Regions from separate parts of the Homo sapiens genome. Here region 2 is linked to region 1. The links are contacts of gene promoters, found by promoter capture Hi-C in blood cells and fetal thymus (Javierre and others, 2016). All regions are on one chromosome and are shown on one strand. Each heading gives the region's core, a stretch centred on a gene start or on the middle of the fragment in contact. The rest is flanking DNA. Distances are from core to core; before and after follow the strand shown. Region 1 holds the start of MED31 (mediator complex subunit 31). Region 2 overlaps PITPNM3 (PITPNM family member 3).

Region 1 (6,688 bases), core at 2,168-4,667:
GTGCCCCGGGACCGCAAGAGGGAGCCGTGGTTTCCGGAACTCCTCCCGCCCCTCCGGGCTTTTCCTCTGTTAGGCAGGTGGCGATTCGCTGTCTTTGCCTGTTATGGCCGCTGCCGTCGCCCTGGAGACAGGTGAGTAGCGCTCTGAGCCTGGAGTCTTCGCAGATAGAACTCTCCTTGGCCCAGACCTCTTCTCCCGCTTCCCCTGGGCCTCCTTCCAGGCCTCACTCCCGGCAGGATTAGTATTTGGACAGGGAGGAGAGAAGGCTCTTGCAGCGTCTAGAAAGGCTAAGGTACTCTGCAGTTTTCCTAATTTGGTTTGTTCGCACACCTTTGCTATTCAAACACGACCCCACCAGCTTCCCAGCGTGGGCGAGACTAAGGGAGAGGACTTGTGTCTTAAAGCGTGTCCTCCTTGTGTCTTAAAGCGTGTCCTTGATTGGTTTTCTGCTTCTCACATGAGCTTGCATACGTTTGAAATATCGTCGCCAGACCTGTGTATCATTGTGTTACTTGTGATTCTTATATATGCATATGTTCCATCATCTTTTAGGCTCTCTGGAGTCTCTTGTTCAGCTTGCATCCTAAGTTTTTCTTAACTGATTCAGCACGTGCTTTTGCGAAACTTAATCACTGTTAACAATTGTTACAATGCATTATTAAAATAGGGGAAGCCACAGTTATTACAGCCTACCTTAGAGATCACTGTTAAAATTCCTACATAGTGGCCCATGAGTGGTAGGTATTGTGTCTCATTTGTGTTGCTGTTTTCTTTGATGATTTCTCTTTACTTTTAAAGGTAACCCTCTTCCATGACTGTTCCTTAAAGTGGTGCGCTGTCCCAGTAGACCATGCTCTAGCTTTCCAAGCTGCTAGAACTGTCAGTGTTTCTCAGCCTTGGCACTATTGACATTTTGGGACCAGTGATTCTTCATCGTTGGCAGAGGGGAGGGTGTTGACCTGTGCACTGTAGGATGTCAGGTGGCATCCCCGGACTCTACCCGCTAGGTGCCAGTAGCACCTAATGTGCCACCCACCCCCTCCCAACAACTTTTCAACCAAACTAAAATGTCTCTAGAGGTTGCCATATATCCTCTGGGGGACAAAATCACACTTAGTTGAGAACCACTGTCCCACATTCTACACACAGAAGCCAAAAGGATATTTTTTAAATGTAAATGGCATCATGTCGTTCCCCTGTTGGAAACCCTTCAATGTTTTCCTGTTGACCTTAGAATAATCTCAAATTCCTTACTGTGGCTTAGAAGACCTTCTGTGGACTGGCCCCTGCTTGCTTTTAACTCCTCTCTTCCGTTCTGCTTCCATGTCTATATAATTGCTTCTCTCTCACTCCAGCCACACTGGCCTTCTTTCTGTTCCTTGAACATTCAAAGCTGGTTCCCATCCACCCTTTGTATTTGCTGTTCTTCTGCCTAGAATGCACCTGTTCCAGATCACTGTTCATTCACACATATCTCAGATTACATGTTAACTAATCAGCAAGGCCTTCCCTGACCATTTTATCAAAAGAAGCCACTTACTTCCATTCTCTATCACATTACCCATGTATTTCCTTCATAGTGCTAATCACAATAGAAAATTGTCTTGTTTCATCATTGCTTGTCTGCCTTTTCACCAGAGTGTAAGCTCCACTAGAGCTGGGACTTTGCCTTTTTTACTGCTATAGCCCAAGTTCCCAGAATACAGACAGTTCCCAACTTAAGATGGTTTGACTTATGATTTTTCGACTTTACAATGGTACAAAAGTGACATTCAGTAGAAATAGTACTTTAAGTACTCTTACAACCATTCTTTTTCACTTTTAGTACAGTATGCAATAAATTACATGAGATATTCAACATTTTATTATAAAACAGGCTTTCTGTTAGATGATTTTGCTCAACTTTAGGTGTTCTGAGCATGTTTAAGGTAGGCTAGGCTAAGCCATGATGTTTAGTAGGTTAGGGGTATTAAGTGCATTTTCAAATTACCATATTTTCAACTTACAATAGTTTCAACGGGAGGTAACCCCATCGTAAGTGGAGGAACATCTAGTGCCTGGCACAGAGCCGGTTCTCAATAAATATAACTCTTCTCCATCTTCTTCAAACCTCAGGCCAGGTTTCAGTGACCTCCTCTCACTTTCTAAGATTATTTTTGCTTGCTGGTGGGTTTACTGTCATTTTTAACCACATCTAACCTACCTTAAAAAAGTGTATGGATGGGGGTGCCAGGTACAAAGACTTAGCATAAAGAAAACGACCATTTACTTTGAAACATAAACAAAGGCCAATTAATAATTTATGAGTCTGTTCCTTGTCCCTCGAGTTTTTAGCAGGCATGGAATCATTCCACAGGTCATTATTTCAGTTTGGTCTCTGTTCCTAAGGGGTGAAGGTTTTCTGAGGGCTGTGGATCCCAAACTCACCTGGCTCAGAGGCTCAAACAGCCTCTCTTTGTCCATCAACCCGATTTAGACAGCATCCTGGGCCTGAAAACCTTCTGTGCTGGCTTCAAGTGAAAATAGTTCACTGGGTCAAAAGTAGGCTGGTCCAAGACGCAGGACGGTCAGTAAACGTTGGCTGTGTTCAGAAACTGCGGCTTGGCTGTTTCTTACATTGATTTATGGTTTGTTTCCATGAAACCGAAAATGATTGGTCCACCTGGCAGCTGGCTGGCTGGCTGGCAACTGGAGGCCTTTCTGTCCTGGCTGAGGGCCCTGGCCCCTTGGTGGCCTTTGGGAAGCAGCATCTCATCGGGCCGTTTTTTCGTTCTGGCGGGCGGCCGGCTTGGCCCGCGGGGTCGGGCTCTCCGCGCAGTGCAGAGACGTCTCCACCCTCAGGGACGAGGCTCTGACGTGGCGGGAGGTCGTTTCCGTGCGCTGCGAGGAGGATTCCACGTGCCGGGAGGACGCCTCGAGGATGCGAGGGAGCCGCTTCCCCGAGGGGGAGAGGGAGGGCCCCTCGCTGCGGCGCTGGGAGGTCTCCACCCGCCGGGACGACGTCTCCACGCGGTGGGACGAGGTCTCCACGCGGACCGTGGACGTCTCTGTGTAGCGGGTGGTCCCCACCCGGGGCGAAGACTGCTTGGCCCCTCGGGCTGAGGCCATTCTGCCGGCGTGAGGGGGCCAGGGAGGCCTCGGGGCACCCTACAGCCCAATGGTCACCGCAGGCAGAAGAGAGGAAAACTACGGTACTGCCATAGCCGGGAGCGCCACAACACGATGACGTGGAAGCACCATGGTCCTTCGAAGGCTAAAACACTGGACTCCTGCCCCTCAGGCGCTCCCACGGCCCGGGCCCCGCCCCCTCGCTATTTTGGAGCCAGCGCGGGTGGAGCCATCCCAGGGCTGGTCGGGGATGGGCGGAGCCGCCCCGCCCCATATCCCACAGTGCCCCGGGACCGGAAGAGGGAGCCGTGGTTTCCGGAACTTCGCCCGCGTCTCTGGGCTTTTGCTCTGTCAGGCTGGTGGCGTTTTGGTGTCTTCGTTTGTTATGGCCGCTGCTGTCGCTATGGAGACAGGTGAGTAGCTCTCTGATCTTGGAGTCTTCGCAGATGGAACTCTCCTTGACCCAGACCTCTTCCCCGTGGCCTCCTTCCAGGCCTTACTCTTGGCAGGGTTAATATTTGGACAGAGAGGAGAGAAGGCTCTTGTAGCGTCTAGAAAGACTAAGGTACTCTTTGCAGTTTTCCTGATTTGGTTTGTTCGCACATCTTTGCTATTCAGACACCACCCCACCAGCTCCCTGGCGTGGGTGAGACTAAGGGAGAGGACTTGTGTGTTAAACCGTGTCCTCCTTGATTGGTTTTCTGCTTCTCACATGAGCTTGCCTAAGTTTGAAATATCGTCGCCAGACTTGTGTATCATTCTGCTACTGGTGCTTCTTTTTTTTTTTTTTTTTGAGACAGCGTCTGGCTCTGTCGCCCAGGCTGGGGTGCAGTGGCGCGATCTCGGCTCACTGCAAGCTCCGCCTCCTGGGTTCACGCCATTCTCCTGCCTCAGCCTCTCAAGTAGCTGGGACTACAGGAGCCCGCCACCGCTCCCGGCTAATTTTTTTTGTATTTTTAGTAGAGACGGGGTTTCACTGTGTTAGCCAGGATGGTCTCGATCTCCTGACCCTGGTGCTTCTTATATGCATGCGCTGCATGATCTTTTAGGCTCTCCGCAGTCTCTTGCATCCTAAGTTTTTCTTTACTGATTCAGCCCCTAGCGTTTGCGAAACTTAATCACTGTTAACAGTTGTTACAACGCATTATTAAAATAGGGGAAGCCACAGTTATTACAGCCTACCTTAGTGATCACTGTTAAAATTCCTACATAGTGGCCCACGAGTGGTAGGAATTCTCCGTTTGTGTTGCTGTTTTCTTTGATGATTTCTCTTTAACTTTAGAGAAACTTCTAACTTACTCCTTTTAATCAGGGCTCCGCTTTTCTTAGATTTCGAAGGAAGGTTTATCTCCTCCCACTCCTAGTTTAGGAAGACCATCTCAACATTAGTCAGGTTTCTTTATTGCTCTTTCCTTACTACAAATCAGTATTATATACAGTGACCTTTGTTTTCCATGATTTTTGCTGTCTTGTCTCCTAGATGATGCTGGAAATCGACTTCGGTTTCAGTTGGAGTTGGAATTTGTGCAATGTTTAGCCAACCCAAATTACCTTAATTGTAAGTTGTTAAGCACCTCATTAAATTGAGTAGCTATTAATGATTTCTGACAGAAGAGTTGCAGTTCAAAATAGTATCTACTTTTACACATTCTCAGTTGAATGACATTACACTTATGCTGGTATATAGATATAATTGCGTACTGGGACTTGTGTTTTGAATCCAATGTGTGTTGGTGGTGGGGGTGTTATGTAAATAGATCCTTTATATTAGGGGTAACAAATCACAGTTTAAGGATTGGTTTGACCTACAGATTTTTTTTTTTAATGCTTTTCAGTTCTTGCCCAAAGAGGTTACTTCAAAGACAAAGCTTTTGTTAATTATCTTAAATACTTGCTTTACTGGAAAGACCCAGAATATGCCAAGTATCTAAAGTAAGTTTAATTTTTATAATCCTAAGCATGTGTATACTTTATTATATAATAGATTTCTTAGTTTCACATTGGCAAAAATGTATTTGGAATCTCTCCACTTCTTTTTGTTATCACCGTCTTAATACAAGACACCCTCATCTCTAACTTGTAACACTGCAGTAATCTACTCCCTGGTTATCTGTGCTTCCACTTTTACCTTCCTGCCCCCATCTCCACCCCAACCCAAACCAAGCAAAACAGCTTTCTACACAGAAACCAGCTTAATCTTTTAAAAATATAAATCAGAACACTTTACTTTCTTGCTTAGAACCTTTCAATGGCTTTCCATTCCATGCAGAATAAAATCCAGTCTTTTTTCTTGGACTAAAGCCTTATACGATCTGGCCCTGCCTTTTCTGACCTTGTCTTTTACCACCCTTCCCATCTCACCAGGTTTCTGGTCCCTAAGAACTCACAATCTGTAAATGTAGTAGCATAAGCCATGGGCTGAAATTAAAAGAGGGTATCTGTAAGGAAGGTGTTTCTGGGGTTATTTGAAGGAGGTGATCTTACCTGAGTCTTAGAGTTGCTGTCTTTTATTTAAGGCCTCTTATTTGCCAGGAACAGTGCTAAATGCTTCATATGCATTAACTCATTTATATATATATATTTACCATTCAGGTCGTTCAGCAGACACTTTCATGTTAAGGCTTACTAAGTTGCAAGAAACATATTATAACCACAAAGCAATTCCCTTTTAATGGTTAAAAAAAAAAAACAAAAAAAACAAAAAAAACCAACCCACCTTGAACTCACACCCCTGCTTTGTCTTAAGCAGGTAGAAAGCAATAATGAACCTTTAAAAAAAAAAAAAAGTTTGAGAGGAAAATGTTTCAAACTTCTCTCAAAGTCACTTTTCTGTGTCCAATAACAATTGACTCACGAAGCACATACGTCTTATGTTGCCTGCAGGACCGTTTGCACCTTTTCTGGCTTTTTATCCATTTAATAATCCAAAGAACAGACTTTTAAGAAAAGTAGACTTCAACGAATATTGTATGTATGTAGATTTACAGACTCAGTGTTGGAAGCCTTAGCCACCAACAAGTTTAATCTTACCCACAACGTTGCCGAGAGATGGTCATCTACACTCTGGAGGTTTCCATTGAGCCCGTGTTACTCTGTCAGGGACAGCTGATTCGATTGTTAGCCAGATATTAGAAAGTTCTTCCTTATATTGTGATATAATGTACCTCCTTGTAGCCCCAGTCTGTTTGTCCCTGGATGAAGCTAGAACCATTCTATACCCTCTTGAGGACAACAGCCTTCCAGATATTTACATTCAAGAGAGACTGCAAATTAGCCCCTTTTGGGTGTTTTATTCAGTCTGCAGAAGATTTTAGTTTTTTTAATACTTGCCAACATTTAAAGATCAGAAAGTTGTATATAACAAATGCAGATTTCCAGCTACTCTTTCAAATCTGGAAGATCTAGTAACCATAGATCTTAATTCTCCCAAGTCAACAACTGGGCTGAAGCTGAGAGCAGCTGTCACTACTAGCTGCTTTCCACCTGGTGGAAGAGACACTTTCTACCACTTGGCCTGCTTCATTGATAGCCAGTAGGTGCCACTATAACATCTCTCTTCCATCTATTTTTCTCAACTACC
Region 2 (6,688 bases), core at 48-2,547, 170 kb after region 1:
GCCCTCATTTTACAGATAGAAAAACAGAGGCCAACAGTCTGAGTTCTGATTCTGAGCCCATGCTGCTCTCTAGCCCAAGTCTGACCCCTGAGAGTAGCCTACTCCCCGTCCTTGGGCTGGCCTGGGCCAACGCCAACCCTGACCCTCCCCAGTTTGCACACTGCTTCCCAGTTGGGCTCTCTCAACACCTCCCAAGGACGAGTTTCTCATTCTCCTGTGGGGAGGCAGCACTGCTCTGGCCGGGTGTGGGGGTGAGGGGTCAGCAGTGGGCAGGCCTGCAGTCCCAGCTGCATCTCTTCCAGGTGTGTCTCATCGGGGACTGTGTGGGGGGCCTCCTGGCCTTCGATGCCATCTGCTACAGTGCGGGGCCCTCAGGGGACAGCCCTGCCAGCAGCAGCCGGAAGGGGAGCATCAGCAGCACCCAGGTACAGCCGGGGGACAGGACCGCGGGAGGGGTATGCCCATAGGAGCAGGGCCTGCCCCTCGGGGAGAGAGTGCTGGTTCTTCACGTTGGCACCATGACATCCAGGTCACAAAGAAGTGTATCATAATCCAGCTGGGCGCAGTGGCTCATGCCTGTAATCCCAGCACTTTGGGAGGCCGAGGTGGGCAGATCACCTGAGGTCAGGAGTTTGAGACTAGCCTGGCCAACATGGTGAAATCCCATCTCTACTAAAAATACAAAAATTAGCCGGGCATGGTGGTGGGTGCCTGTAATCCCAGCTACTTGGGAGGCTGAGGCACGAGAATCACTTGAACCCAGGAGGTGGAGTTTGCAGTGAGCCAAGATCGCACCACTGCACTCCAGCCTGTGTGACAGAGGGAGACTCTGTTTCAAAAAGGAAAAAAAAGAAGAAGAAGAAGAAGAAGTGTATCATAATTCTACAAGAGTAGCAGGGGATTATTATGACAGGTGTGGAAACTGAGGCCTGGAGAGCTGGATTTGGCCCCTTCGACAGCCATCCAGCATCCCAGTGGGAATGTCAATCCCGGTGGATGCGGGAGAGAGCCTGTGCCTAAAATCCTACCATGATTGCAATGTGGCTTCCTGTGTCTTTTGGAAGAAGGGTAGCCCCTCACATCTTAGGATGAAGGGGTTGGTTTGTGCTTGGGGGGAGGAGACAAGGCCCCAGAGTCTCCCGTGACAACAGTCTTTTTCTCTCCTGTCCCCTGTTCGGTCCCAAAGGACACCCCAGTCGCGGTGGAGGAAGATTGCAGCCTGGCCAGCAGCAAGCGTCTCAGCAAAAGCAACATTGACATCTCCAGTGGGTTGGAGGATGAGGAGCCCAAGAGGCCGTTGCCGCGGAAACAGAGCGACTCCTCCACCTATGACTGCGAGGCCATCACCCAGCACCATGCCTTCCTCTCAAGGTAGCCCCTCCCTGTCCAGAAGCAAGAAGACCTTGGCTCAGAGCCAACTGGGAGGGCTGTGACCAGTCAGATGTCCCAGGCCCTTCCATGGGGGCCCATAGATAAGCACTGAAATGCTGGGACCAAGGCCACTCGCCATCGGCCCTGTACTGAGGGACCACAGCCACTCGTCGGCAGCCCTGTACTGAGACTCTGGAACCTGGTTCCCTGTCCCTGCCCTGCTCTGACTTGCAGAGAGACTGGGAACAGTCGTCCTTTTCTGAGCCTCGGCTTTTCTTCTGCAAAAAGATAATGCTGCCCAGCCTACTTCACTGCATGGTTTTAAGAACCTGGCGGAGTAATTGCTGTGACTGTGTTTTGTGAGTCACCCGAGGTGTGTGTTGTTATCATTTCTCATAGGGAAAGAGAGGGTCAAGTAGGTCAGGAACTTTCTAGAGGTCATGCAGCCAGTGACGGAAGAGCTGGGATCATCATTCTGGTCTCCCTATCCCAAGTTCATGTATCTAATCCAACACACTTTTGTTTATGGGCCAGGCAGGCTCCTCTACAGAACTGTTTGCCCTTTAACTTTCTAGAAGAGACATGTTAATCAATGTGGGCTAAACACATTATCTGCACATTAATTCAGCTTACACGTTAATTGAACTTGGACCCAAATTGGAAGGAATGTCTCTTTCTTTTTCCTCTGCTCCTCAGCTCTCTTCTTCCTTCCTTTCTCCTTCCTCCTTACCCAAGTGATAAGTATCATGAGGTCATTACAACATTTGGAAGATAATCATCTCACCACCCAGAGGGAGCCAACAGTCTCATTGTTAACATAGAGACTGTTTCCTTCTACATGCTTTTAAGATCGTTTTATTTTAAAAAAACCCTTTATATTGTGATCTTTTCCTGATATAATTAAAAATACTTGATAAATATTCTTAATGGCAATATAATGTCGAATGAATGGATATCAGTTTACTTAATCCCTATAATTAGGCATTTTGGCTGTTTCCAATTCCTTAGCAGTATAAATAGCCCTACAGTGAACATCTTTGTGCATAAACGTTAATGTATATATTAGGGTGATTATATTTGGATGGATTCCTGGAGGAAGAATTATTAGGTCAAAGACTCTGCACATTTAAATCTCTGAATGTTTAAAGCCCCGCTGACAGATGATCCTTTAGAAAAGCAGCTACCTTCTAGTGAGGCTTGCAAGGTGAAAAATCTCAACAGTCCTGGCTCATCCTTGAAAAATCCTTTAGGAGAGCCCCAAATTTGGAGAGTGATGAGAAGTTGGAGGCTTCCAGGAGCTGGTCTGACACAGCCAGCTTTCCCCTCTGGTGTAGGGACAGATGGTGGTTTCTTTGGCAATTAAGTAGTTGGCATGTGTTTAGGGACCACGCTGTACATGAAATATGTATTGTTAAACATCAGAGTCATCATCTCACTGTGAGATGCTCACACTGCAAGAGGCAGGAGGGAGTGCGGAGACTGAGGATTCAACTTTGCAGACTCGCTCACTCCTGAGGGTGGGGCACTTGTCCACATGATTTCAATAGCTCTTTCTAAAGTTTGTTCTCCTCTGACTCAAGTAGTTTAGTTGCTTTGCATTCAGTTAATCGATTCACTCTAAGCTGCAGCTAATGGCTAGCTGGAAGGTCAGGGAGGTGCCCAGGTTTCCTTCTGATTCTCAGCGTCCTACTCTGGGTCTGTGGCTGAACGTAACTTGGATTCTTCCCGGGACAGTGGGCACCTGGGTTGGAAATGGTTGGAATTCTGTGTGTCTCACATTTTTCTCCTTAAGCTCTGCTTCATCTGTGGGCTGGGGCTGGGGGTGGGGAGACCAAGCTGTTTGCATCTGTGTCTGCGGGTTGCCTGGAACAGGAATTACGATGAAAGCCCTGATCCCAGCAGAACAGAACTGACGTTAGCCAGCTGAGTGTTGGGCAGGCTGGGCTTGTCTGGTACACAGTGCAGGAATCCTCAGTGTGGCCAACACAAAGCCAGCATGACGAGGCAGGCCTGCCAGTGTGTAGGATGCTCAGGCGCCCCAGGTGCTCAGCCTGTTTTTGTAAGTAACATTTGATTGGATCCCAGCCATGCATATTTAATCACTGTCCATGGGCGCTTTTATGCTGCAATGGCAGAGTTAACTAGATGCAATGGAGACCACACGGTCCATGTCGTCTGAAATATTGACTCTCTGGCCCTTTGCAGAAAAAGTTTGTTGATTCCTTTTCTAGCCAAATATCAGCCAGGCCTTGGTGGCCAGTGCTGACTGTAGGTGGTGTGCAGCCGGTGGACTCTCAGCCCCGCCCCAGAGATGGAGGGTTGGGCACTTCACGCTCAGAATTCAGGCTGCGCTGCTGTGTGAACACTCCCGCATTCTCGGTCCTTCCCTGACCTGCCCTGCCCTGCGTCCTCCTCCCTCCGCAGCATCCACTCCAGCGTGCTAAAGGATGAGTCTGAGACCCCGGCGGCTGGGGGGCCGCAGCTCCCTGAGGTCAGCCTGGGCCGCTTTGACTTCGATGTGTCCGACTTCTTCCTCTTCGGCTCGCCACTGGGCCTGGTCCTGGCCATGCGGAGGACGGTGCTGCCTGGGCTGGACGGTAGGGATGGTGTGGGCTGGGGCCTGAGGTGCCTGTGCGTCACTAGGGCCACCGTGTCAGGGCCTCAGAATGAGGAGAGTGAAGTCGGGGACAGGGGCAGGGAGGGTCACAGAGTTGGGATAGGTGGAAAGAGAGGAGAGAGGGTGGGGAAGAGGAGGGAGAGAGGAGCAGCTTCCCTCCTGACACAGGGCGAAGGTGAGGCAGCTTCAGATGGATTTCACTCTCCATGTCAAGTGCCCCTGGCTGCTTTGTGGCCTCATTGTCCGGTGGTCACGCCCTATGGGGAAGAGAAGACAGAATATTCAACCTCTTGCCTCCCACCCTCTCCTTCTCCTGTACTGAGGCAGATACGACTGCCAGGTTGGTCTCACCACCCACCCCCGCATATCCCCAAGCCCACCTCAGGTGCCTTTGCTCATGCAATACCTGCAACCTTTTTTTTTTTTTTTTTTTTTGAGATGGAGTCTCACTCTGTCACCCAGGCTGGAGTGCAGTGGCGCGATCTCAGCTCACTGCAACCTCTGCCTCCCGGGTTAAACCAATTTTCCTGCCTCAGCCTCCCGAGTAGCTTGAAGTACAGGCACCCACCATGACGCCCAGCTAATTTTTGTATTTTTGGTAGAGATGGAGTTTCACCATGTTGGCCAGGCTGGTCTCGAACTCCTGACCTCAAGTGATCCACCCGCCTTGGCCTCCCAAATTGCTGGGATTACAGGCGTGAACCACCGTGCCCGGCTAATACCTGCAACCTCGAATGCCTTTTCCTGCTCCTCTAAAATGTACACACCAGGCGATTGGCACCAGCAGGCATGAGGGGTGGGGAGGGTATCTGTGACTCTTAAGGACAGAAGTACAGACCGTCTGAGGCTGCAGGGCACCTTGGGTATCCACAGATCCATGCTTTTGGCCAAAGCTTACTGACAAGCTACAGTATGGAACAGATAAAGTGGGTGGTAGAAATGGAGGCGAGGAGGCAGAACCCCATGGCTGCCCTCAGTGTCGCTAATGAACCCTAGGGCTCCCTGGATGCTGGACGGTCCAGTCCCTGTTCTAGGAGGACAGGGAGGCCCGCCGATGAGGTGGATGCCTCAGTGGAGACACCTGCTGGTCAGCGAGAGAAGTGTTCCACCAGCTCTGGCAAACCTGGAACTCTAGCAGCAGGCCTGGGAACTGAGTGTTTATAGCCTTGAGGCCTGTGGAAGGGGCAGCTGACCTGCCTGAAGGAACCTGGGTTGGCTTCCTAGGTCAGGTGGTAACTGAGTGAAAACTGGAAGAATCTAAAGGAGTTGCCCCGTGGAAATGGGGGAGGGAGGGCCCACAAGGAGAAGGGATGTTTTGAGCAAAGGCTCAGAGAAAGGAAAGCTGCAAGCCTGATTGGGGAAGGGCAGCTGTGCAGCACGGCTGCAGTGCTGGGTGCCTGTCACTGCGCTCCTGGGTGGGGAGACAAACTGAACGTAATGGCTTTGTTCCCGTGGGGAGCAGGGAGCCCGGGGAGGCTCTTGAGAGGGGAGTAGGCTACTCCAGGCTGCATTCCAGGGAGCCTCCTAGGGCCCAGGGAGCAGGTACTAGAAAGTGGCTTCCCTCTGTCTTCCCACTCACCCCAGGCTTCCAGGTGCGTCCTGCCTGCAGCCAGGTCTACAGCTTCTTCCATTGCGCAGACCCCTCTGCCTCACGGCTCGAGCCACTGCTGGAGCCCAAGTTCCACCTGGTGCCGCCTGTCAGCGTGCCTCGCTACCAGAGGTTCCCACTGGGCGATGGGCAGTCCCTCCTCCTCGGTAGGTTCTTGGGGGTGGGAGAGAGTGTGCTGAGCTGGAGGTGGGGCCCCAGCCCATTCAACCCCTCCAAGCTCTCAGTGAGTAGGGTGACTCACCTGAGCAGGGGCTGTGAGAACAGAAGGTTAGCCGACTCCTCTGTCTTCAGAGTCGCCCACCTGTGCTAAGCACCTGCTTGTCTGAGGCATCTTGGGGCTCAGAGGCCCCCAACAGGCTCCCGGACACACTCCTGTGGCCAGGGCTGGTGTAAACTTGAGCTTTCAGAGCTGATGGCGGGTCCAGGGATCCGTGCTCCAATCTATTTTTTTTATGAGTGCCCAGCCTGGACTCTGAAGGGGTAGGGCAGAGAGTGTGCCATCCTGGTGGGCTTCATGGAAGAGGTGGCCTTTGATTAGGGTCCAGAGAGGGGAGGTGCATTTGGGCAGGTGGAGAAGAGCTAGAGGATGAGGGTTGAGATCTTCCAGGCAGGGAGAACAGCAGGAGCGAGGGCAGGTGTTTTGGCGAAGAGCCAGTGGCCTCCAGGGTCAAGTGGGGTGAACCGGGCATGGACCGAGTGTATCGTCGATGGGAGACCTGTAATGGACAGTCAGCAGCTTGGAAATCGGAGCCTTGGCTCCACGCCCTACTTGAGGAAATTTAGCCTAAGCCTGCTCAGAGGTTTGCGTCAGGGATGGGGGAGTTGTGCATGGGGCCGATTCAGGATTAAAAACCATCCCTTCCTCACCCCTAATTCAATGGAGCCTTTATTTCCAAATCCCTGCCTGCCTGGAGCTTCAATAGGTCGGCTAGGCTGGAAACCTCCCTCCCCCATGGATCCCTCTTTGGTCAGGGGACTCCCCTCCCTCCCCTGAGGCTATCCTAGCTCTCAGGCTGGAGTCCCCATTCCCTTCCAGAGGCAGCCTCAATTCTTTGTGGCGCAGGGGAGGAGTTGGATAAGAGAGGATATGG

The links. The method cuts DNA at HindIII sites, captures the fragments that hold promoters and counts their contacts. A CHiCAGO score of 5 or more calls a contact.
Region 2: a fragment that was not itself captured here is called in contact with the fragment with the promoter of MED31 in region 1 in 1 of 17 cell types (megakaryocytes); the score reaches 9.4 in megakaryocytes.

What each region holds. Positions count from the first base shown.
Region 1 is chr17:6,648,334-6,655,021 of GRCh38, reverse strand. MED31 (mediator complex subunit 31) reads left to right here and starts at 3,417. Exons shown (of 4, transcript NM_016060.3): 1 at 3,417-3,521; 2 at 4,589-4,666; 3 at 4,944-5,040. The coding sequence starts at 3,494. C17orf100 (chromosome 17 open reading frame 100) reads right to left here and starts at 3,260. Exons shown (of 1, transcript NM_001105520.2): 1 at 1,546-3,260. The coding sequence starts at 3,108. The coding sequence ends at 2,752. RefSeq lists silencers at 2,893-2,942, 3,243-3,322 and enhancers at 3,573-3,702, 3,773-3,852, 3,943-4,002. The HindIII fragment of the contact is 11,591 bases long and covers 1-4,978 here.
Region 2 is chr17:6,471,712-6,478,399 of GRCh38, reverse strand. PITPNM3 (PITPNM family member 3) reads left to right here. Exons shown (of 20, transcript NM_031220.4): 8 at 303-425; 9 at 1,187-1,371; 10 at 3,796-3,968; 11 at 5,573-5,743. Among named protein-coding and RNA genes, the nearest start is that of PIMREG, 31 kb to the right of the region's middle. RefSeq lists enhancers at 3,159-3,750, 3,751-4,343, 6,530-6,688. The HindIII fragment of the contact is 7,172 bases long and covers 1-4,883 here.